Regions from separate parts of the Homo sapiens genome. Here regions 2, 3, 4 and 5 are each linked to region 1. Evidence: promoter capture Hi-C in human tissues and cell types (Jung and others, 2019). All regions are on one chromosome and are shown on one strand. Each heading gives the region's core, a stretch centred on a gene start or on the middle of the fragment in contact. The rest is flanking DNA. Distances are from core to core; before and after follow the strand shown.

Region 1 (4,693 bases), core at 1,433-3,932:
TGGGCATGATGGTGGGTGCCTGAAATCCCAGCTACTCGGGAGGCTGAGGCAGGAGAATCACTTGAACCCAGGAGTTGGAGGTTGCAGTGAGCCGAGATTGCACCACTGCCCTCCAGCCTGGGCAACAGAGTGAGACTCCTTCTCAAAAAAAAAAAGCTGGGTGGTGGTGGCATGCACCTGTGGCTCTAGCTACTCAGAAGGCTGAGGTGGGAAGACAGCTTGAGCCTGGGAGGTCAAGGCTGCACTGAATCATGATCACACCATTGCACTCCAGCCTGGATGACAGAGGGAAGACACTGTCTCAAAGGAAAAAAAAGGTGTGAAGAAAGGAGAAAAGTTTGGCCTCTGGTCCAGAGCTCAAATATCTCTAGTGCTTACTCGCTGTATGACCTGCAGCAAGTCAATTTTGCAGTGCTTCAGTTTCCACATCTGTACAATGAGGATAGTACCACCTATTTCATAGGGTTTGGGGGCTGGCCATGGTGGCTCATGCCTGTAATCCCAGCACTTTGGGAGGCCGAGACAGGAGGATTGCTTGAGCCTAGGAGTTCAAGACCAGACTGGGCAACATAGGGAAACCCTGTCTCTATAAAAAATGGAAAAAATTAGCTGGGTGTTTTGGTTAGGGAGGCTGAGGTGGGAGGAACTCTTGAGCCAGGGAGGTCAAGGCTGCAGTTAGCTATGACTGCACCACTGCACTCCAGCCTGGGTGACAGAGAGCAACCCTGTTTCAAAAAAAAAAAAAAAAAAAAAAAAAGGATTTGGGGGAGAAGTAAGAGACGATACAGGCAAAGCTCTCAGAATAGTGACTTGCATATAGTAAGTGCTCAATAAAGGTTGCCAATTTTTACTGGTTGAAAGCATAGGCTCTGATTTGCCTGAGTTTGAATCCTGGCTCTAACATTTATTAACTGTGTGATTTTGTGCGTATTTTATCTTGCTGCTGTCATCATTACAAGAGAGGTAATAAGCTTTCTTTAGAGAATTCTTACGAAGATTGAGATAAGATATGTAAAACCTAGTTCTATTTCCAGCAGTCAGTAACAGCTCTAAAAGTGTGACTTGCTATTCTTATTCTCCACATGATTATTCTCGTTTACCCTTGCAGAAAGTTTGAGCTATTCCACCTTATATTTGCAACTACACATGCAAATATGCTAGAAAGGAAGCAATTTTTTTTTTTTTTTGAGACACAGTCTCGCTCTGTCGTCCAGGCTGGAGTGCAGTGGTGCAGTGGCCCGATCTCGGCTCACTGCAAGCTCCGCCTCCCACGTTCACGCCATTCTCCCGCCTCAGCCTCCCGAGTAGCTGGGACTACAGGTGCCTGCCACCACGCCCGGCTAATTTTTTTGTATTTTTAGTAGAGATGGGGTTTCACCATGTTAGCCAGGATGGTCTCGATCTCCTGACCTCGTGATCTGCCCGCCTCGGCCTCCCAAAGTGCTGGGATTACAGGCGTGAGCCACCGCACCCAGCAAGGAAACAATTCAAATATAGGTACCCTTGTCAGGCAGGGTGACAGAGACCACCTATAGTCCCAGCTACTTAGGAGGCTGAGGTGTAAGGATTGCTTGAGCCCAAGAGTTAGAGGCTGCAGTGCGTTGTCATCACGCCTGTGAGTAACCACTGCATTCCAGCCAGGGCAACATAGGAACACCCCGTCTCTTAAATATAAGGTGCCCAGAAACCAAATGATTAAAGGATGAGGCGGGGTGCAGTGGCTCATGCCTGTAATCCCAGCACTTTGGGAGGCCGAGGTGAAGCAGACAGATCACCTGAGGTCAGGAGTTCGAGACCAATCCGACCAACATGGCAAAACCTCGTCTCTACTAAAAATACAAAAATTAGCCGGGTGTGGTGACACATGCCTGTAATCCCAGGAACATGGGAGATGGAGACAGAATTGCTTGAACCCGGGAGACGGAGGTTGCAGTGAGCCGAGATCGCGCCACTGCACTCCAGCCTAGGTGACAGAGCAAGACTCCGTCTGAAAGAAAAAAAAAAAAGGATGAGTGGGTTCCAGGTTGCAGTACAGTGTGAAAAGCATAACAGGCAAAGTTTCAGAGGCGGACAGACTTAGTGCCAATCTCCTTCACTTTCCAGCCGGGGTAACTTCCTGGGGTGTCGCACCACCTCTAAGCCTCAGTGGCTTGAACGACAAAGACGAAAGAATAATACATGATTGCTGTGAGTGTACTGGAAGATAATGCACGTGAACGTTACAGACAAGGAGTGATGTTCACCCAACTTTAATCTCCCTTCACTTCCCACCTCATGTAACAGGCCTCACAAGCCCTAAACAACACAGCCACGAGACAAGCAGGATAAGGAAGATTCAGGAGCTCTCAGATCCTAAACCTAGTTCCCTTTCCCCCAGGCCAGGGACGGCTGTTCCTCCCTGAACTCCTCGCCGAACGTTGGCCCCAGCAGGAGAGGGGCAAAAAGTAACGTCAATTGCCTCTGCCCCTGGCTCAGTTTAACTACCTCAGTTTATCCATCCTCCCACCCTCCACCCTCCAGGCGTCGCTAAAAGCCCTAAAGAAGGGCCCACGGAGCGAGGCTCTCGGAGTTCCCTTTCCCAGTCACGCTAAGTCCTCGCCTTCTCACCTCAATACTCCGGGGCTTCTCCATGAGACCTCAGTTTCGCCAAGCGTCACCAGGTGCAGGAAGCCATATTGGCCTGCCCCGTCGCTCTCCGCGAGAGCACTCATTGGTCGCCTCCCTGAGCCGCGGGCCAATCACGCTGCAGGAAGGAGGAAAAGCCGGTTCCGTGCCTGCTCCCGCCATTCTCTCCCTGTGGGCGGGGAAGCCGCGGGCGGTTATGGGAATTGTAGTTCGCATGTGTGCAGGGTGAGTCGTTACCATAGCGACGTGGAAACCAGGGGCGCTGGAAACCTGGTGCGCCTCACGCCGAGTGTTCCAATTACGCCAACCTCTTGACTTCACTGGATGTTATTCTTCCCTAAACGGTTATTGAGCACCTATGATAGTCACTGTTCCAGACTCCAGGAATAACCTCGTACTCTCCCGGGTTAGATATTTAAGGTGCCCTTTTGCTGGGATGCATAGCAGAGGGACTCATTTCCAACTCAGGCAGAAACTGGACTACTCCAGATTAAAAAGAAAAAAAAAAGGAAGAAACTGGAATACTCTGTGTGTGTGTGTGTGTGTGTGTGTGTGTGTGTGTGTGTGTGTGTGTGTGTTTTCTTGAGACGAAGTCTTGCCCTGTCGCCCAGGCTGGAGTGCCGTGGCGCGATCTCGGTTCACTGCAACCTACGCCTGCCAGGTTCAAGCGATTCTCCTGCCTCAGCCTCCCAAGTAACTGGGACTACAGGCGCCCACCACCAAGCCCGGCTAATTTTTGTATTTTTTAGTAGAGACGGGGTTTCACCAGGCTGGTCTTGAACTCCTGACCTCGGGATCCACCCGCCTCGGCCTCCCAAAGTGCTGGGATTACAGGCGTGAACCACCGCGCCCGGCTGAAACTGGAATATTCTTTTTCTCAATACTGTAAATGTCCAGCCTGCTCAAAATCTTACAACATTCCTCCTTCACCACTCTCTCCTGGGTAAAAACCTCGAATCTGAGGCTCTCTGCCTCATCCCGTTAGGGTTTCCCACAACCTCCTTAGACACCCTGAGTTCTAGGTGCTGTTGTGGAGCTTTGCAAACATCTTTTCAAACCCTTAGACATCCTATCACCGTTTGAAAGAAGAGGAAGTGGTGGCTCTTCACCACTTCAGGTTTAGGCACTTTCCAAGATCACACAGGATTGGGATTCCAAATTTAGTACAGATTCCTTCCCTATGCCATGCCGTGTCCCAGTGAATTAATTGAGACTCTAAATGCAATATGTGGAGGCTGAATACATATAAAATATATGCCTAAATTTGAAGTCCGCCGTGGAGATGTCAAACTCTTCCTAGAGGTCTTTCTTTCCTTCAACCCCTTCCACCCTAAACCCCTGTATCCATGCTGTCAACGTGTTGGTTTTTCTACCTCCAAAATATATCCTGTATTTCCTCCACCACTACCACTCTAATACAAGCCACCGGCCCATTGCAGCAGCCCTTCAACTGGTCACCCTTTCTTTCTTTCTTTTATTGATTGATTGATTGATTGAGATGGAGTCTCCCCTGTCGCCCAGGCTGGAATGCAGTGGGATCTCCACTCACTGCAACCTCCACCTCCTGTGGTCACCCTTTTTAAATCTTCACCTTTAATACACACAGGTGATCTTTAAAACTCATTGACCTGGCCGGGTGCAGTGGATCACGCCTGTAATCCCAGCACTTTGGGAGGCCAAGATGGACAGATCACAAGGTCAGGAGATCGAGACCAGCCTGGCCAAGATGATGAAACCCTATCTCTACTAAAAATACAACTATTAGCTGGGTGTGATGACGGGTGCCTGTAATCCCAGCTACTTGGGAGGCTAAGGCAGGAGAATCGCTTGAACAAGGGAGTCAGAGGTTGCAGTGAGCCGAGATTGCACCACTACACTCCAGCCTGGGCAACAGAGCAAGACTCCATCTCAAAAAATAAAAATAAAAATAAATGTTCTGGAATAAGATAGTGGTGAAAAAAAAAGAAAAAGACAGGTTGGTTCAGCAAGTGCAAAGGCCACATTGGTGGAACAGCAAGTGCAAAGGTCCTGGGGCCAACTCAAGCTTGGTATGCAATAAACAGAAAGA
Region 2 (4,693 bases), core at 1,137-3,636, 460 kb after region 1:
TTATATTAATTTTGCCTCTGTTTGTTTGTTTGTTTCTCTCTCTCTCTCTTTCTTCTTATTATTTTTGGAGACAGAGCCTCACTCTGTCGCCCAGGCTGGAGTGCAGTGGTGCAATCTTGGCTCACTGCAACCTCTGTCTCCCATGTTCAAGCAATTTTCATGCCTCAGCCTCCCCAGTATCTGGGATTACAGGGTCACACCACTGTGCCCGGCTAATTTTTGTATTTTTTGTAGAGACAGGGTTTTCACCATCAGGCCGGTCTTGAACTCCTGACCTCAACTGATCACCCGCCTCAGCCTCCTAAAGTGCTAAGATAGCCACGGTGCCTGGTTAGAATATATTTTTTAAATGTGCCTTAAAATTTCTCAATACAAAAAGGTTCAATGAACATTATCTAGGAAATAAAGAATTAAAAAAAATAAGATTACTAGGTAGAAAATAAACATTTAAATTCATAGAAAGGGATTGGAAGATTATATACCAAACTTTTTTTTTCTTTTGAGACAAGGGCTCACTCTGTCGCCCAGGCTGGATTGCAGTGGCACAATCACAGCTATATATGTGTATATAATTTTCTAAGTAAAGAAAGTCCTGAAATTTTAGGTTAAAAGGTGTATTAGGGCCGGGCGCGGTGGCTCATGCCTGTAATTGCAGCATTTTGGGAGGCTGAGGCGGGCAGGTCACTTGAGGTCAGGGGTTCGAGATCAGCCTGGCCAACATGATGAAACCCCATTTGTACTAAAAATACAAAAATTAGCCAGGCATAGTGGCAGGTGCCTGTAATCCCAGCTACTCGGGACGCTGAGGCAGGAGAATCATTTGAACCTGGGAGATGGAGGTTGCAGTGAGCTGTGATGGCACCACTGTGCTCTAGCCCGGGCAACAGAGCAAGACTGTCTCAAAAAAAAAAAAAAAAAAAAAAAAAAGGTATATTAGTCAGGGTTCTCCAGAGAAACAGAACCAACAGGATATTATAAGAGAGATTTATTATAGGAATTGATCGTTTCTCGGCCTTGTGGCTAAGATCAAGTGTAGATTTATTATGGGAATTGGCTCATGCAGTTATGGAGGCCAAGAAGTCCCAGGATCTGCCATCTGCAAGCTGAAAAACCAGGAAAGCTGGTGGTATAATTCAGTCTGAATCTGAAGACTGAGGACCAGAGGCACAATGATGTAAGTCCCAGTCTAAGCCCAAAAGCAAGAGCTAGGAGCACTGACCTCCAAGGGCAAGAGAAAATGGATGTCAGCCCAGAAAGAGCAGATTCGCCCCTCTTCCACCTTTTGTCCACTCAACAGTGGATGATACCCACTGACAGGGAGGATCTTTTTCTAATTTTTTTTTTTTTTTCTGAGACAGAGTCTCACTCTCTCGCCCAGGCTGGAGTGCAGTGGTGCAATCTCCGCTCACTGCAAGCTCTGCCTCCCGGGTTCACGCCGTTCTTCTGCCTCAGCCCCCTGAGTAGCTGGGACTACAGGCACCCGCCACCATGCCCAGCTAATTTTTTGTATTTTTAGTAGAGATGGGGTTTCACCGTGTTAGCCAGGATGGTCTCGATCTCCTGACCTCGCGATCCACCTGGGAGGATCTTTTTCACTCAATCTACCAACTCACAATGCTAATTTGTTCTGGAAACATCATCACAGGACTACCCAGGAACACTGTTTTGCCAGCTATCTGGACATCCCTTAGCTCAGTCAAACTGACACATAAAATTAACCATCACACGACCATCCTTTTTGAACTTGTCATCCATACACATCTCCTTAAACCATACTTAATCTCCACATGAAGACACAAGGTTTTTTTGGGTTTTTTGGAAACCAGATCTTGCTCTGTTGCCCAGGCTGGAGTGCTGCAGCCTCAATCTCCTGGGCTCAGGCGATCTTCCTGCCTCAGCCTCCTGAGTAGCTGGGACTACAGGTGCATACCACCACACCCAGGCTGGAGTGCAGTGGCACGATCTCGGCTCACTGCAACCTCCACCTCCTGAGTTCAAGTGATTCTCATGCCTCAGCCTCCTGAGCAGCTGGGACTACAGGCACACACCACCATTCCTAGCTAATTTTTGTATTTTTTAGTAGAGATGGGGTTTCACCATGTTGGCCAGGCTGGTCTCGAACTCCTGACCTCAAGTGATCCACTTGCCTTAGCCTTGTAAAGTGCTAGGATTACAGGCGTGAGCCCCGTGCCCGGCCAACATTTTTTTTAAGAGACTCTTTTTTACTCACTCTACCGACTCACAGCACTAATTTCTTCTGGAAACACCATCACAGGCCTACCCAGGAACACTGTTTTGCCGGCTATCTGGACATCTCCTTATGTTGCCCAGGCTGGTCTTGAACACCTGGCCTCAAGTGACCCTCCCACCTCAGCCTCCCAAAGCGTTGGGATTACAGGCATGAGCCACTGCACCCTGCCAAGACACAAGGTTTTCATTCCACTGAACGTGTTACAACCATCTGGTGTACAACTGGATTTCTGTCTTAGTCCCTTGGGGCTGCTATAATAAAATATCATAAACTGTTTATCTTATTTACAAGAGAAATTTATTTCTCCCACTTCTGGAAGCTGGGAAATCCAAGATCAAGGTGCCGACAGATTCAGTGTCTGGTGAGGGCCCACTTTCTGGTTCATAGACAGCATCTTTTTGCTGTAATCTCACATGCTGGAAGGAGCAAGGGACCTCTCTTGGGTCTCTTTTATTAAAGGACACTAATCCCATTCATGAGGGTACTGCCTTGGGGAATGCACCACTCTTTCAACTTCAATCAAGTATCTCCTGAGTTTGAGTGCTTGTTTTCGAAAGCGTGGTAGAAGTTTATTTTTCTCCTTGGTCCTCTAGTAGCCAGGTTACAGCTAGGTCATCTTGACTGTACCATCTGCAGAGAGGAAGACTCACCTTCGTTAGGATAGAAGCACCAGTGTCTAACTAGACAAGGACTATGGACTTAGAATGACATCGAATTTCCAGACCAAAACATTTACCAGAGCATTATGGTGTTCAAGGCATTGTGGGGACCCTGAGGGGGTGTATGGAGGACTATGAAGCAATCCCAGCCCCCACAGGAAGCTTGCAATTATTTTGGATGATAGCCATCCATACAAGATTGTGTCTGGGAGTGGTGGCTTACGCCTGTAATCCCAGCACTTTGGAAGGCCAAGGTGGGCAGATCACCTGAAGTCAGGAGTTCGAGACCAGCCTGGCCAACATGGTGAAACCCTGTTTCTACTAAAAACAGAAAAAAATTAGCTGGGCATGGTGGTGGGTGCCTGTAACCTCAGCTACTTGGGAGGGTGAGGCACGAGAATCGCTTGAACCCAGGAGGCAGAGGTTGCAGTGAGCCAAGACCGTGCCATTGCACTCCAGGCTGGGCAATAAGAAAGAAACTCAGTCTGGAAAAAAAAAAAAAGACGTTTGCTTTGTCCCTAAAAATTAGTGTCTATGAATTTTCTTACATTGTTATTTCTTCATGTGTAAATATCCTATCAGTGCAGCTAAATCGTAAGCTCCATGAGAACGCAGACGGTAGCCTGTGTTTCGGTGCGTATTCCTACATGGAAGCTCTGAGTTACGGTTAAAGATGAGACTGATTTATACAGATGATAATGCTCTCGAGTTTAACATTGTCTCTGCAATGATCTATGAGCATATTTGGAAAAGAAATCGCATCAGGGGCCAATGGTTTAAATAGGAGGATTTCTGGGCACTGTCAGGAGGTGTTATAGACAGACCTGGGTCAGTTGCAGAGCGGAGAGGATGTCCTGTGTTCTTCCTTTTCCCTTTCTGGCTCCAAGCAAATGGGCAGAACCAAATGAGGCAGGAAGGCGAAAGGAAAACTTGGATTCCACAGTGAGAGCTGGAGATGTGCTCTGTCAGTGACTAACATGAAACCACCCTCTCTCAGCAGGTTTAGGTCTGACCACGAAAGAAGCCTGGGCTCCCCAGGGTCACATGTGATGGCTGTTAACAGGACAACTGGCTATGCCACTGTGATAATTGTATCATCCACTGAATGGTTAAACTCCTTTGAATACTCTCAGAATTAAAGAGGATATGTGGTGGTGGAAAGTGACAATTGGGGCTGTGTGGAGTCCTCGTGTGTCCCTTTCTTATGCTTCCTTCCAAAGCTGCTACCCATCTGATGCCAAATTCTAGAACCGGCCCTTGTTACAAAAGCATGAACTTCAAACAATTTTCTAGTCTATACTCCTTGCTCCCAGGCAAGTTTTGCCTAAATTACTCCCAATCGTGACATGATTTAAAATTTTTGCCCCCTTTTTTTTTTTTTTTGAAGACAGGGTGTCTACTCTGTCACCCAGGCTGGAGTGCAGTGGCACAATCTCAGCTCACTACAACCTCCACCTCCTGGGCTCAACCAATGCTCCTACCTCAGCCTCCCAAGTATCGGGGACTACAGGCACACACCACCACACCCAGCTAATTTTTGTATTTTTTGTAGAGATGGGGTTTCACCATGTTGTCCAGGCTGGTCTCGAATTCCTGGACTCAAGCGATCTGACTGCCTCGGCCTCCCAAAGTGCTGGGATTACAGGCGTGAGCCACCGCGCCGGGCCTGTATGCCCTCATTTATACAAGTTTCCTCCCTGAAGAAAACTTGGATCAGTTAGATAAATGGATGAAGAAAATACCACCCACAGTTCTCCCACCTCCAAACAACCATTGTTAATAT
Region 3 (4,693 bases), core at 1,004-3,503, 450 kb before region 1:
TCAGGTGCAGTAGCCCATGCCTGTAATCCCAGCACTTTGGTAGGCCAAGGTAGGCGGAATGCTTGAGTCTAGCAGTTCAAGACCAGCTTGGACAACATGGTGAGACCCTGTCTCTACAAAAAATTTAAAAATCAGCCAGGCATGTTGGTGCACGCCTGTGGTCCCAGCTACTCAGGAGGCATAGGCAGGAAGACTGCTTGAGTCCAGGAGATCGAGGCTGCAGTGAGCCATGATCGTGCCACGGTACTCCAGCCTGGATGGCAGAGCAAGACTTTGTCTCAAGTCAACTTAGAAAGCAAACCAGCCTGGGCACCCTGGCTCATGCCTGTAATCCAGCACTTTGAGAAGCTGAGGCAGGCGGATGGCTTGAGCTCAGGAGTTCCAGACCAGCCTGGGCAACATGGTGAAACTCCGTCCCTACAAAAAATACAAAAATTAGCCAGGTGTGGTGGTGCAAGGGTATGGTCCCAGCTACTCAGGAGTCTGAGGTGGGAGAATCACCTGAGCCCAGGGAGGTCAAGGCTGCAGTGAACTACAGTAACACCACTGCAATCAAACCTGGGTGACAAGAGACCCTGTCTCAAAATAATAATAATAATAATAATAATAATAATAATAATAATAATAATAAATTTTTAAAAATGACATGTGAAAAAAATTACGTTTAGTGTCCCATTATGCAGGCTCTGAGAGTTGGTCTATTATATATGTGAGAGGGAATGACTTGAATTACTTAATCATTCTTTTAAGCCTTTAACAATTTACACTAGATTTATTTACTTTTGCTCATTGTGGAATAACAAACACAATCAAGGAGAAGGGCGAATAAGAATCCTGCTATTTTTTCAAATTTGTTCAACCAACTAATCTGGCTAAGTACAGCACAACAGAGAAACCACAAAATCCCAGAGTCTCCAACATAATAAAAGGTTCCATTCTCTATATGGCTTTCAAAAAACTATTAATAACAAGTAGTAATCTGTCAGTTTGCTGAAAAGAGTAGTGCCATTCTCTTGGCCTATGCCCAAGCTGTTTCTAATAAGATTTTCAACTCAGGAGGCAGTTCCAGAAAGCCTGAGATTGACTCACCTGTATGTGAAGCGAAGCTTCTCAACGATAGCCTTCATCTTGCCCACCTGCTCTGGAGTTGCCATGATTTTTTCAGTAAAGGGCATCTTCCTTTTATCATCAGCAAAGGGTAAAAAGACCAGCTGGAAGCCTGAAGAAAGGAGATAAATTTTCTTTGATTTGACTTCAAGTGTTGCAGTCACTTGTTTCTCAGCTCCAAATTCTTCCTTTTATGTCCTGTGGTGCTGGGGCTGGGGCCCCGTAGGCCCCATTTCTTGAACTCCACCAGCTGGTTTTTGTTATCATCTGCCTAACAGACTCCCTCTGCAGTTTCCAGAAGACTGCAAGGGAGGAGGGGTGCCCCTTCCTGTATACAGTAGATCCCTTATCCCTGGGGAATATGTTTGAAGAACCCGGGAGGATACCTGAAACCTCGGACAGCACCAAACCTGACTGCCGTCAATTGAAACATGTTTGTCCATGTCATACGTTCATAAATTTAATATTTAATGTTTTTTTCCATCTTTTTTTTTTTTTGAGATGGAGTTTCACTCTTGTCGCCCAGGCTGGAGTACAGTGGGCAATCTCGGCTCGCTGCAACCTCCGCCTCCCAGGTTCAAGCGGTTCTCCTGCCTCAGCCTCCTGAATAGCTGGGATTACAGGCGCCACCACGCCCGGCTAATTTTTGTACTTTCGGTAAAGATGGGGTTTCGCCATGTTGGCCAGGCTGGTCTCAAACTCCTGACCTCAGGGGATCTGCCCACCTCGGCTTCCCAAAGTGCTGGGATTACAGACGTGAGGTACCGCGCCCAGCCTTCATCTTTTTTTTTTTTTTTTTGAGACAGGATCTTGCTATCACCCAGGCTGGAATGCAGTGGTGTGATCACAGCTTACTGTAGCCTCTACCTCTCCGGCTCAAGTAGCCTATCAAGTAGCTGGGACTACAAGTGAATGCCACCACACTTGGCTACTTTTTTTTATTTTTTTGCAGAGACAGAGTTTCACCATGTTGCTCAGGCTGGTCTCAAAACTCCTGGGCTCAGGCGATCCACCTGCCACAGCCTCCCAAAGTGCTAAGATTACAGGCATTAGCCACAGTGCCTGGCCTCCTTTTCTATTTTAACTAAGCACTTCTCATGTACTGTGGCAGTAACTTTTACAGTTTGAGGTGCAACAGGAAAACTAGCTTGGGCCGGACATGGTGGCTCACGTCGGTAAGCACAGCACTTTGGGAGGCTGAAGCAGGAGGATCACTTGAGCTCAGGAGTTCGAGACCAGCCTGGGCAACATAGTGAGACCTTGTCTCAATTTATGTAAAAAAAGAAGGGGGGGAAAAAACTATTTTTTTTTTTTTTGAGACAGAGTCTCGCTCTGTCACCCAGGCTGGAGTGCAGTGGCGCAATCTCAGCTCACTAACTCCACCTCCCGGGTTCACACCATTCTCCTGCCTCAGCCTCCCAAGTAGCTGGGACTACAGGAGCCTGCCACCACACCTGGCTAATTTTGTATTTTTAGTAGAGACGGTTTCACCGTGTTAGCCAGGATGGTCTCAATCTCCTGACATCGTGATCCGCCACCTTGGCATCCCAAAGTGCTGGGATTACAGGCGTGAGCCACCACGCCTGGCCACTAAGATGAATTTCTTTTTCCTTCTTAACAATTTTGTGGATAGAAGATTCCTTCTTACCATGTATCTTAGCAACCTCAGCATAAAAAAAAAAAAAAACTAAAATGAATTTTTTCCCTTAACAATTTTGTGGTTCGAAGATTCCTTCTTACCATATATCTTAGCAACCTTAGCATATATTTTTTTCCTCCTTAAAGTCAAGAACTCTCACCTTTTCATTTAAAGGAAGCACTTTATGACTTTCTCTTTAGTATATCCAAACTGCCAGCACCACTACACTTGTGCTTTGGGGCCGTTATTAAATAAGGGTGACCTGAACACAAGCACCGCAATACTGATTACCTTGACAGTCAATCTGATAACCAAGACAGCTACTAAGTGACTAACTGGTGGGTAGCATTTACAGTGTGGAGATGCTGAACAAACAGATGATTCCTGCCCCAGGTGGGATTGTGCTTTTAAGTTATTTCTAGAATTTTCCACTTAAAATTTTTGGACCATGGTTGACTATGGGTAACTGAAACTGCAGAAAGCAAAACTGTGGTTGCGGCCCTCCTGTATTTACTGTTCCTACCTGTATTGCCCCAGCAAAGACCCTTTACCTGGCGGCAGTTGGTTCCAGTCTCCAGCTTTTTTGATACATCCAGAGCTAGCCGGACAGTGCCTCCTCCCTGGAGGGCTAAGTCCCAGCTCCATGGGGGCCTTCTCTGAGCTTCACCCTCGCCCCTTTTTTCCTTACCCTCTACCACGTGATAAATAAAAGGAAACAGGTAAGAGTTATCAGGCTGATTTTAGTTCAGTTACTGGCTGGTTCTGGAAGGACTAAAAAATCTACGCCCTGTAACTAACTGCTGCTACCAGGTGAAAGCCTTTGCTGACAATGCTGACCACACTGAGCAAACAGGAAGAAGCAAATCCCTCACCTCTCCTCTGCCCTTTGGTCTCCCTCTAGCACCCACTATAGACACAGCCTGAGAGCCAGCTGTGAAAGATGAAATTAGGTTTGGATCATTTCAGCCTCAGTAGTGCAGAGCATAAAAGGGTGAATTTGGAGCTGAGATACAATAGCTTAGTAACTGAGCACTCCTGAGCATGCTGAGGATCAAAGTTAAAACTACAGTAACTCATCTCAAATGTAAAACCACCCCGAGGGAAAGGTGCTCCAGAACGCCCATCTTTGTAGCTAAGGAATATTAAACAGAAAGGTTAAATTACTTGCCCACGTTGACCAGCTAACAAGCAGCAGAGATGGGCCCAAAACAAAAGCAAGCAAGCTTCCAGACACATAAGCACAAGATAAAGTCAAATCTGACTTTAAAATCCATGGTCTTTCCGCTATACCTCACTATCTTGGCAAACCCCATGGTTGGTTTGTATAGGAACTAAACCAAACATTAGACATTACAAGGGTGCCAAACAATGGCTTTGGAAAGAAAGGTGTCGGCAGTGAGGTCCCAAGAACTTGTGTCAGTAATCTGCAAACAGTCCCCTAGGCAGACATTTCTCTATCCTAGCTGCAGATCAGCCTTGTACGGCTGCGCATGCTGTGCACCCCATCACCATATTTAGTGGCCTTACCTGGCTGTGCACTAAATTCACCCAAGAAAGCTTAAAAATAGACATTTTTAAGCCCCATTCCCAGAGACTATGATTCAGTAGGTCTGCATTAGGAGTCCATGGATGATTCCAAAGTATGGGCAAGGTTCAGAAGCCCTGGAAATATCTCTGCCACATACCTGGAGGAGTCACCTGAATTTTCTGGTCATCCAACTCTTCTTCCTGTGGCACCAAAGCCACAAAATAAGGAGGGATGTTCCTGCGGGGTGTGTATCTGCACAATGCTGCAACCTCCTTCTCCAGACACTTGATGAGCAGAGCACTGAACAGGGTTGAGCTCCCTAGAAAACAAAAAGCCCAGTGACTAGCCTCCTAAAAAGGTTTCCTCCTTTCTTCTCTTTTAGCCCTAAAGTTTCTCTTCCATTTTCTTTAAAGGGCTTA
Region 4 (4,693 bases), core at 1,385-3,884, 340 kb before region 1:
GCGATTCTTCTGCCTCAGCCTTCCTGAGTAGCTGGGATTACAGGCATGCGCCACCACGCCCGGCTAATTTTGTATTTAGTAGAGACGGGGTTTCTCCATGTTGGTCAGGCTGGTCTTGAACTCCTGACCTCAGGTGATCCGCCCACCTTGGCCTCCCAAAGTGCTGGGATTACAGGCATGAGCCACACGCCTGGCCACCACACACTTTTTTTTTTTGAGACGGAGTCTCACTTTGTCGCCAGGCTGGAGTGCAGTGGTGTGATCTCAGCTCACTGCAACCTCTGCCTCCCGGGTTCAAGTGATTCTTCTGCCTCAGCCTCCCAAGTAGCTGGGACCACAGGCGCGTGCCACCACGCCCGGCTACTTTTTTTTTTTTTTTTTTTTTTTTGTATTTTTAGTAGAGACAGAGTTTCACCGTGTTAGCCAGGATAGTCTCAATCTCCTGACCTTGTGATCCACCCACCTCGGCCTCCCAAAGTGATGGGATTACAGGTGTGAACCACCACGCCTGGCCCCGCCACATACTTTTAAATGACCAGATATTGGCTAGTCACGGTGGCTCATGCCTGTAATCTCAGCACTTTGAGAGGCCAAGATGGGGGGGATCACCTGAGGTCAGGAGTTCGAAACCAGCCTGGCCAACATGGTGAAATCTTATCTAAAAATACAAAAGTTAGCTAAGTGTGGTGGTGGGCACCTGTAATTCCAGCTATTTGGGAAGCTGAGGCAGGAGAATCGCTTGAACCCAGGAGGTGGAGGTTGCATTGAGCTGAGATCATGCCACTGCACTCCAGTCTGGGCGACAGAGCAAGATTCCGTCTCAAAAGAAAAAAAAAAGAAAAGGCCTGAACCGAAGCAATAGCAGTGGGAGTGGAATGAAGAGGAAACATTTGAGAGGAAGAATTAATGGTAATCCCTAAACACCTTTACTCAATGCTTCCTAGGAATGTGTTAGGGGATTGTGGGAATAAAGAGCTGAAGTAGCATTTGCTGCTGTCCTCAAGTACCTCAAATCCTATAGAAGCACACCTAAAAATAAAATCATAGATGCAGGGAAGGCCACATTTAGCATCACTGCAGCCAGTGTCACTGAGAGATCACTATGCTTGTGAAATCAGCAAATTAAGGCACCATACATTTCCAAGTGCCTCTGTCATTTACCCCAAGTATCTTTTGTAAGTACCTAAATTGTTATTTTGGTTAAAACACACTACAAGCCCGGGCGCGGTGGCTCACACCTGTAATCCCAGCACTTTGGAAGGCTGAGGTGGGCAGATCATGAGGTCAGGAGATCGAGACCATCCTGGCTAACACGGTGAAACCTCGTCTCTACTAAAAAAAAATACGAAAAATTAGCCAGGCGTGATGGTGGGCGCCTGTAGTCTCAGCTACTCGGGAGGCTAAGGCAGGAGAATGGCGTGAACCCGAGAGGCGGAGCTTGCAGTGAGCCAAGATCGCGCCACTGCACTCCAGCCTGGGCGACAGAGCGATCCTCCGTCTCAAACAAACAAACAAACAAAAAAACCCACTACAGTATACATCTACACCCCACCAATTTTTAGAGGCAGGGTAGTGAGGTTCAGACTGGGCCCACCTCTACCACTTGTCAACACGTGATCTTGGGTAAGCTACCAAATTCTCTTAGCCCATGCTATCACGTGAAGATGAATGAGACTGGAATGTCAGCGAGACAGAGCATGATGGGGCTATAGGAGGGGGGTATGGTCAGATCTTGCAGGGCCGTGTGAACTACCATAAAGGTTTTGGACTTTTCTTCTTTCTTTCTTCTTTTCTTTCTTCTTTCCCTTTTCTTTCTTCTTTCTTCTTCTTCTTCTCCTTCTTCTTTCTTCTTCTTCCGCCTCTCCTTCTTCTTCTTTTTCGTTTAGACATGAGGTGTCACTGTCACCCATGCTAGAGTGCAGCATGCAACCTCAAACTGCAACCTCAAACTCCTGGACTCAAGCGATGCTGCTGTCTCAGGCTTCTGAGTAGGTGGGACTACGGGTGTACACCACCACGCCCGGCTTGGATCTAGTATTCTAAGTTCAATGGGTTGTGTTTTTTGTTCCAATTTATTATAACTTTTCAATTGGAACATAATGTCTACAAATAAATGCAAAAATCTTGCCGAGTTCAATTAGTTTGGACAATTATATACGTCAATGTTATACCACCGAAAACAAAATACAGAACATTTCCATCATCTCAGAACAGTCCCAAGTGCCCCTTTCCTGCTAATTCTCCTTGTCTCCGGAACACTTAAGGGTGCTAAGCATGTTATGTTTGCGGTGGGTTTTTTTTTTAACTTAGATGTGGTAATATATGTTTGCGTTTCCAAAGGATCACTCTGGCTGCCGAGCAGAGGACAGCAATGCGGGTAAAGCACAGGCCAGGCGAGGGATAATCAGGCGGGATTGCACGGAGGTCGCCTAGCAACAGAAAGCGCTGTCGGGGGCGGGGGAACCGCTCTGCTCCTGTGAAAGGAGGAGGCCCCGCCCTCTCCTCGCCCTCTCTCTGCCCCACGCTGTGCGCGAGCACACAGGCAGCCCCGCCCCGCCTCGGCGGGGTGGGGGTGGACAGAGGTTTCTTATTGGTGAGTTTTCCGGAAGCGATGGATTCGGAATCTCGCCCGCAGTCGCGCAAGCGCGAGCGGCTGTGCGCGGTGCGTGGTGCGTGGTGCGTGATACGAGCGGCGGCACGTGGCGCGGGTGCGGGGCGTGGAGTGGCGTGGCGTGGAGTGGCGTGGCGTGGCGGGGTCTCGCGGCGCGGGCGCGCACCCGGAGCTGTGGACGGAGAGTGCCTCCCTCTGGCCTCAGTTTCCTCATGTTGTAGTAGCGGAGCATGGCCCGGACCGGGCCCCCGAGACCGCCCCGTGCAACCTCACCGCCAGCCTGGGGGCCTCAGCGACTGGGACGGGACCAAGGGGCTCGGGGATTCTCCCTGCCCCCGGCCCTGGTGCGTGACTGACCCTCCTGTTCCCAGAGCCCCCAGCGCAGGCCGGGATGTTCGTCCTGGTGGAAATGGTGGACACCGTCCGGATCCCCCCTTGGCAGTTTGAGAGGAAGCTCAACGACTCCATTGCCGAGGAGCTGAACAAGAAGTTGGCCAACAAGGTACTGGGCCCACGGCTCGCGGGCAGGCCTTGGCGTGGGAGAGCGAGCGCCGCCCACTGGCCGCAGGCCCGGCCTCGGTCATGCCAAGCCCTGGCCGTGGGCAAGCAGCTTAATGTCTCAGAACTTTTCTTCACCGTGAAAGGAGATATTGAAGGGGATCAAAAGAAAATGGGCTTGAAAAAGGGAGTTGTAACTGGAAGTGTTAGATTCCACAATTCTAAATTACTTTGCAATTGCAGGCAAGTTACTGACCCCTTCTGGGCCTCAGTTTCCATTTTTAAAATGGGGATAAAATATTGCTGTCCTTCCAGCCATGCATTGTTTTTGTTGTTGTTGTTGTTTGTTTTGTTTTGTTTTGTTTTTTGTTTTTGAGACGGAGTCTTGCTCTTTCGTCCAGGCTGGAGTGCAGTGGCGCGATCTCGGCTCACTGCAACCTCCGCCTCCCGGGTTCAAGCGATTCTCCTGCCCCAGCCTCCCGAGTAGCTGGGACAACTACAGGCGCGCGCCACCACCCCCAGCTAATTTTTGTATTTTTCGTAGAGACGGGGTTTCACCATTTTGGCCAGGATGGTCTCGATCTCTTGATCCCCCCGCCTCGGCCTCCCAAAGTGCTGGGATTACAGGTGTGCGCCATCGCCTCGGGTCAATGCATTGTTTTCGTGAAGATGGAGAGTTCTAGTAGTACAGAATTAACTGTCAGGAGGTTCATCCCTTCATTCCAGCAGCCAATATTTGTGCGCCTTCTCTGTGCTGTGCCTGTGTGCCTTAGTACCAGCTGAGAGGTCTTCCCACTGCCGTTTCTTTGACAGTCCTCCCTTTCCAGGTATTCTGTGTCACATCACTCTCTTTCCTTCTTAGACTTTTTCCTTTCCCTCTCCTTGAGAGCAGGGACCTTATCTGCCTTCTTCCCTGAAGTATCCCCTCATTTAGCCAAAGCCTGGCGGGAGTAGATGTCCCATAATTTTCTGTTTTGTGTTTGTGTGTGTGAGACAAGAGTGCCGCTCTTGTCGCCCAGGCTGGGGTGCAATGAAGCGATCTTGGCTCACTGCAACCTCCACCTCCCAGGTTCAAGCTATTCTTCTGCTTCAGCCTCCTGAGTAGCTGGGATTACAGGCACCTGCCACCACACCTGGCTAATTTTTGTACTTTTAGTAGAGACGGGGTTTCACCATGTTGGCCAGGCTGGTCTCAAACTTCTGACCTCAGGTGATCTGCCTGCCTCAGCCTCCCAAAGTGCTGGAATTACAGGTGTGAGCCACCGTGCCCGGCCATTTGTTGACTGAATGAATGAAACAGAGACAAGGCTCTGTGCTATAGTGTGGTGGGAAAGCAGATATGAATGAGAAGGGTCCACAGTTGAGTGTTTGGTGACAAATTGAGGTAAATGTTATGAGGGACAGGTGTTCACACACCTGTGGAACAAAGGAACGTCCCCTGGAATGAGGGGACCTGCAGCTTTGTTGAGGAGGTGGGGTTGAAGGTGAGATCTGATGGTGAAGTGGAGCCAACCAGAGGATTCCTTTCTAGGGTGGGAGGGGGCTGGGTGGAGAGAAGAGCCCTGAAGGCAGGAACTGGCATGT
Region 5 (4,693 bases), core at 1,615-4,114, 260 kb before region 1:
CCACGGTATCCAGAACAAGCATTGGGCGCTCAGTAAATATATGGTGAATGAGGTAGGAATGAATTGACTACAGGCATAGGGTTTTGCATACATGACTATTAAGGTAGTAACCATCACTTCTCAAATGTATCTAAGCACAAAAGGGGTAAATATACAAGCTTCTCAGAGAAACCGTGTTAGTTGGTTATTTGAGACAGCCTGGTTATTGGGAGGCAGTGTGCAAACTGCATAATATTGTTCATTCATCTTAGCTGAAGGAACAAACAAGGAGACCAGGATTTTAATCCTGACTCTGCTACTGGAAGTCACCCAGGCTCTCAAGGTCTTAGATTTTTCCACCTGTATAAGAGGTTAGTCTACGTGATGGTTGTAAACTCATTCTACTTGCTCATCACTTTCTAACATCCACTTGCTGAATATACATTTGTTCAATGAAGATCATCTCCAATGGACAATGGATTCAGGAAGTAACTTACTCAAGGTCACAGGATCAGGAAAGAGAGCCCAGATCTCCTTCTACACCAGTCTAATACTCATACTTTCCAAGATCCTTTTCGGTTCAAAATGGTGTGATACTATTCTTCTCTTCCAAGTTCAAGAACTCTATAATCATTTATCTTATCAAATAATCTTGCCTGACTCCCTTAAATCATGAGACAGGAAGAAACAACTATTTCCACATCATTAACCTAGAGAATCAAAAGACGTGAAGAGGCCAGGTGTGGTGGCTCACACCTGTAATCCCAGGACTTTGGGAGGCCAAGGCAGGCCGATTACTTGAGGTCAGGAGTTTGTGACCAGCCTGGTCAACAGGGTGAAACCCCGTCTCTACTAAAAATACAAAAATTAGCCAAGCATGGTGGTGCACACCTGTAATCCCAGCTACTCGGGAAGCTGAGGGCAGGAGAGTCACTTGAACCCAGGAGGCAGAGTTGCAGTCAGCCAAGATTGCGCCATTGCACTCCAGCCTGGGTGACAGAGCAAGACTGTCTCAAAAAAAAAAAAAAAAAAAAAAAAAAAAAAAAAAGATGTAAAGAGATAATTAGGTGCAAATCCTTTCCCTTAGCCCGGAATTGAGATCAGAAATATTTTCTTTCAGATAAATGATGATTTTACTTTAAACCATATGGTTTCAATTTAAGCAATGTGATGAAAAATAAGTTCAAGTTTAAATTTAAGCAATGTGATGAAAAATAAGTTCAAGTACCACAAGCTTCCTGAGAGTACAACGCATAACAACTCGTAAAATTCTATTATCAAAGTTGCGCCACTTGATCCAAAAGGAATTCACAAAGTTAAATGTGAAAGGTTGACAGAGAATGTCTACAGATGCTTGCTTGATTTTTATTAACAAAGTACACATTTGACATTGAACCTCTGAGTATAACACCTTCCCAGGGCTGTCAAGTTAGAAGTGAAAAAATCATCTGGCAGTCAGTCAGCTTTCTAGATAGCTCCTAACAGGGGAGTCAAGGTCAAACTGGAGTCTCCTTATCCTCCCATATTTGACAAGCAACTTATTGTGAGGCTCAAAATATTCGTACTGCATTCTGACAAACAGAAATAATTGCACCGTGGTTCATAAAGTTCTGTGAGGGCAGGCTGACATAAACAAGAACTGAGTGGTGGTAGGGCCCATGCTTCTGCCACAGCACTTCGGTGACACTCTTGAGAATCAGAACTTTCACCTACTTTCTACCAGCTTTATCATCTATCAAATGAGAAAAACCACCTCATTCCTACGATTACAGGAATCAAATAATATTATGAAGAATTAAAACAGGCCTCAAATCTTGTGCAAAGGTGAGAGACTATTATTATATTATTTACTACGTATGGGCCCAGAAGACCGCCCCCCTCCCCGACATTCCACGTTCCGCAGGGTCCTCAAAAGGTGGTACAGGGTCCTAGTTTCTTCTCCAGACTCCAGGCCTGGCAACCGTAGATGCTGTCATGCCTCTGTTGCTAAGAGATGGGAAGTGAGGCCTCAGGAACTGGGCCTAGAAGACTCAACAACGACCGCGCCCCCTAGTCACCTTGTCCTCACCTTGAGGAATGGAAACACACCCCACGGGAGCAGGCAATGCTGTCCTCAAAAAGAAGAAAGAGGTGCCTCCGCTCTTCACCCGGCCGCCGCTGCTTGGGCCCACGCTTCTTGCGAGGCAGGGACAGGGCCAGGAAAGCTGACTGTGCCGGGGACGCCTTGACCTAGGGCACCAGAGAAGCGGGCACGGGTGCCGGGCCCACAACCGGGACAGGTACACGAGAAGTTGGCCCCAGGTTGGGCCCGCCTCGCCCTGCCTCGCCCACAGCCGCCGGCACAGTAGGAGGCACCCCGCCCCCGTGAACCCAGAGGTCCCTGAGCTCGCTCACCTGCAGCCGAGTCACCAGTAGGCTGTAGGGCGCCATTTTGTGCACTGACAAAGATGAGGTCGCATTAAAGTGACGTCCCACACGGCGCCTTTAAAGCCTTTGGGCAGGGGCGTGCCCGGAAGAGTGGGGCGTCACGGTGAAGGCGAGGCCTCCCTAGAGGCGCCAGAACCCTGTGAACGCAATGGGCGGAGCTCACGTGCAACGAACAGACACGCAAGAGGAAATCGGACTGCCCAAAGACACTTGCAGAAATAGATACCAAGCACAAAGATGTTTTACCCAAGAACAAATTTTAGTTATCTCCGCCATCCAAATCTGGGAGAGTTTTTAAGAGTTTCATGCACCTGCCAGGACCTGGCCGCCCAGCAGCGACAAAAACTCGCGCGAGAGCAAGACGGGCCTGGTGCAAGGATTGTAAACTGACGGAAGCTTAGAGAACCAATCACAGCGACGTGGAGGCAGGAACAATGGGGGTTAAAGGTCGGACGGAAGTTCCCGAAGCTTCCGGTGGCCGGCTTAGTTAGGAGCTATGGCTAAACATCATCCTGATTTGATCTTTTGCCGCAAGCAGGCTGGTGTTGGTGAGACTGCGCCCTACCCCTGGCTGTCTGGGCAGGGGTGGTATTAGGAGCTGGGGGGTCGGGGGTTCCCGTCTCTTCCTTAGGGGCTTGCCTCGCAGGCGCCACGTTTCCCGCCTCTCAGGCGCGGGGTGTTGTAGGAGCGCGCAGGTTTGTGGCCTCTGATGAGAAGAGGGCGGGGGTGCGCGTGCTGGGAGCCCCAGGCAGGTATCGGGGGGTGGGGTCTGAACCAGGTCCAGAGAAACTCTGAGCTTGCCCAGGGCGTTGGAGGAGATTCAGGAGGGTGCTTGGATGTAGGTTTGGTTCATATGGAAATTTGTAATGATAAAATGGCTATCCGCAGGTCTCACTCACTGCAGTCCTTACTCATGTCCCTACCCCCAGCTCGAGGATGTACTTCTCCTCTTTCTCAAAACCTTTATTCTAATTGTACTTTTTACCATCTTTCATCTTGCAGCCATCGGAAGACTGTGTGAAAAATGTGAGTGGAACACACCGTCCCAACAACCCACCCTTCCCACTCCCAGTTTTCTGTGGAACCAGCAAAAGTGCCACAAAGAGGGCTTTGAGTAGATGTGCCTGGAAGTATGTGAACACTGAATGCTGCACTTTAGCCAAAGGCCCCTCTAACTCCCCACTGCCGCTTGCACATTTAACGCTGTATCTCTCTAGTTTTCAACGGGAAGAATCGCCAGAGTAGCATGACCCCTCCCCAACACACAGCACTTTGCCAGCAATTATACAGGCTTATCATCTCCGAGGTGCTTTTCTAAGCTCTTCACATATGTTAATTGGTAAACTTTTGTATGTGTTGAGGGGCTTGAGATGGACACTGGGGAAACCAAGTTTTGTGATGCCAAGAGGAGGGCCCTAAAGTCACTGTCAAAAGGAGACTAGTGTATTTCCCAGGAGACTAGTATATTTCCCCATGGCAGGAGATAGCAGAGGACTGAAGAACTTGTGAGCATGACTCCATTCTCTTCCTTACAGGTGATGGCAAGTGTGTGATTTGTGACTCCTATGTGCGTCCCTGCACTCTGGTGCGCATATGTGATGAGTGTAACTATGGATCTTACCAGGGGCGCTGTGTGATCTGTGGAGGACCTGGGGTCTCTGATGCCTATTATTGTAAGGAGTGCACCATCCAGGAGAAGGACGTAAGTGTACAGCTTTCCATCTGACCTTTCCTCCTTTTGTTTAGTAACACTTTGCCATCCACTGCAATCTCCTATGGTCTATGGAGATTACTGTGTTCATCTAGTCATCTAGGTTATAATTTCTTCAAGTTCTGTGAGTCAAACTGGGTGTAGTCCAATAAAAGGCAGTTATTTTGCATCAAGGGGAAGAATGCAAGGGAAGCAAATCTTTGTCAAGACCAGCAATTTGGAGAGCCCTCTCATTCATGTCTCTGTGGTTATTCTTATTCAGAAATGACATCCGGCTGGGCGTGGTGGCCCACACCTGTAATCTCAGCACTTTGGGAGTCCAAGTTAGGAGGATCACTTTAGTCCAGGAGTTAAAGACCAGCCTGGGCCACAGAGCAAGATCCCATCTCAAAAAAAAAAAAAGTGTTTTGTTTTTTGTTTTTTGCTTCTTGTTTTTTGTTTTTTTGAGATGGGGTCTCTTGCTCTGTGGCCCAGGCTGGGGTGCAGTGGCATGATCATGTGCAAGGCTCACTGCAGCCTTGACCCCCTGGGCTCAAACGATCCTCCCATCTCATCCTCCCAAGTAGCTGGGACTAC

What was found. Contacts are between HindIII fragments. The study calls those that stand out against the background at their distance.
Region 2: a fragment that was not itself captured here is called in contact with the fragment with the promoter of L3MBTL2 in region 1 in 1 of the 25 tissues and cell types used here (heart left ventricle).
Region 3: a fragment that was not itself captured here is called in contact with the fragment with the promoter of L3MBTL2 in region 1 in 1 of the 25 tissues and cell types used here (pancreas).
Region 4: a contact is called between the fragment with the promoter of POLR3H here and the fragment with the promoter of L3MBTL2 in region 1, in 1 of the 25 tissues and cell types used here (heart right ventricle).
Region 5: the fragment with the promoter of PHF5A here is called in contact with the fragment with the promoter of L3MBTL2 in region 1 in 1 of the 25 tissues and cell types used here (hippocampus).

The regions. Positions count from the first base shown.
Region 1 is chr22:41,203,301-41,207,993 of GRCh38, reverse strand. It overlaps L3MBTL2 (L3MBTL histone methyl-lysine binding protein 2), which reads right to left and starts at 2,682. Exons shown (of 17, transcript NM_031488.5): 1 at 2,608-2,682. The coding sequence starts at 2,631. RefSeq lists an enhancer at 1,338-1,838. The HindIII fragment of the contact is 28,306 bases long and covers 1-2,820 here.
Region 2 is chr22:40,739,098-40,743,790 of GRCh38, reverse strand. No RefSeq gene overlaps it. Among named protein-coding and RNA genes, the nearest start is that of MCHR1, 62 kb to the right of the region's middle. The HindIII fragment of the contact is 6,483 bases long and covers 1-4,693 here.
Region 3 is chr22:41,653,429-41,658,121 of GRCh38, reverse strand. It overlaps XRCC6 (X-ray repair cross complementing 6), which reads right to left. Exons shown (of 13, transcript NM_001469.5): 9 at 4,432-4,593; 10 at 1,090-1,219. Among named protein-coding and RNA genes, the nearest start is that of SNU13, 33 kb to the left of the region's middle. The HindIII fragment of the contact is 3,766 bases long and covers 371-4,136 here.
Region 4 is chr22:41,542,411-41,547,103 of GRCh38, reverse strand. POLR3H (RNA polymerase III subunit H) reads left to right here and starts at 2,634. Exons shown (of 6, transcript NM_001018050.4): 1 at 2,634-3,113. The coding sequence starts at 3,003. RefSeq lists silencers at 2,444-2,543, 2,734-2,863 and enhancers at 2,914-3,003, 3,014-3,113, 2,436-3,273. The HindIII fragment of the contact is 26,348 bases long and covers 1-4,693 here.
Region 5 is chr22:41,466,863-41,471,555 of GRCh38, reverse strand. PHF5A (PHD finger protein 5A) reads left to right here and starts at 2,864. Exons shown (of 4, transcript NM_032758.4): 1 at 2,864-2,954; 2 at 3,409-3,432; 3 at 3,942-4,108. The coding sequence starts at 2,903. It overlaps ACO2 (aconitase 2), which reads right to left and starts at 2,439. Exons shown (of 18, transcript NM_001098.3): 1 at 2,374-2,439. The coding sequence starts at 2,409. RefSeq lists enhancers at 1,772-2,333, 2,334-2,895, 2,465-3,134. The HindIII fragment of the contact is 2,873 bases long and covers 2,009-4,693 here.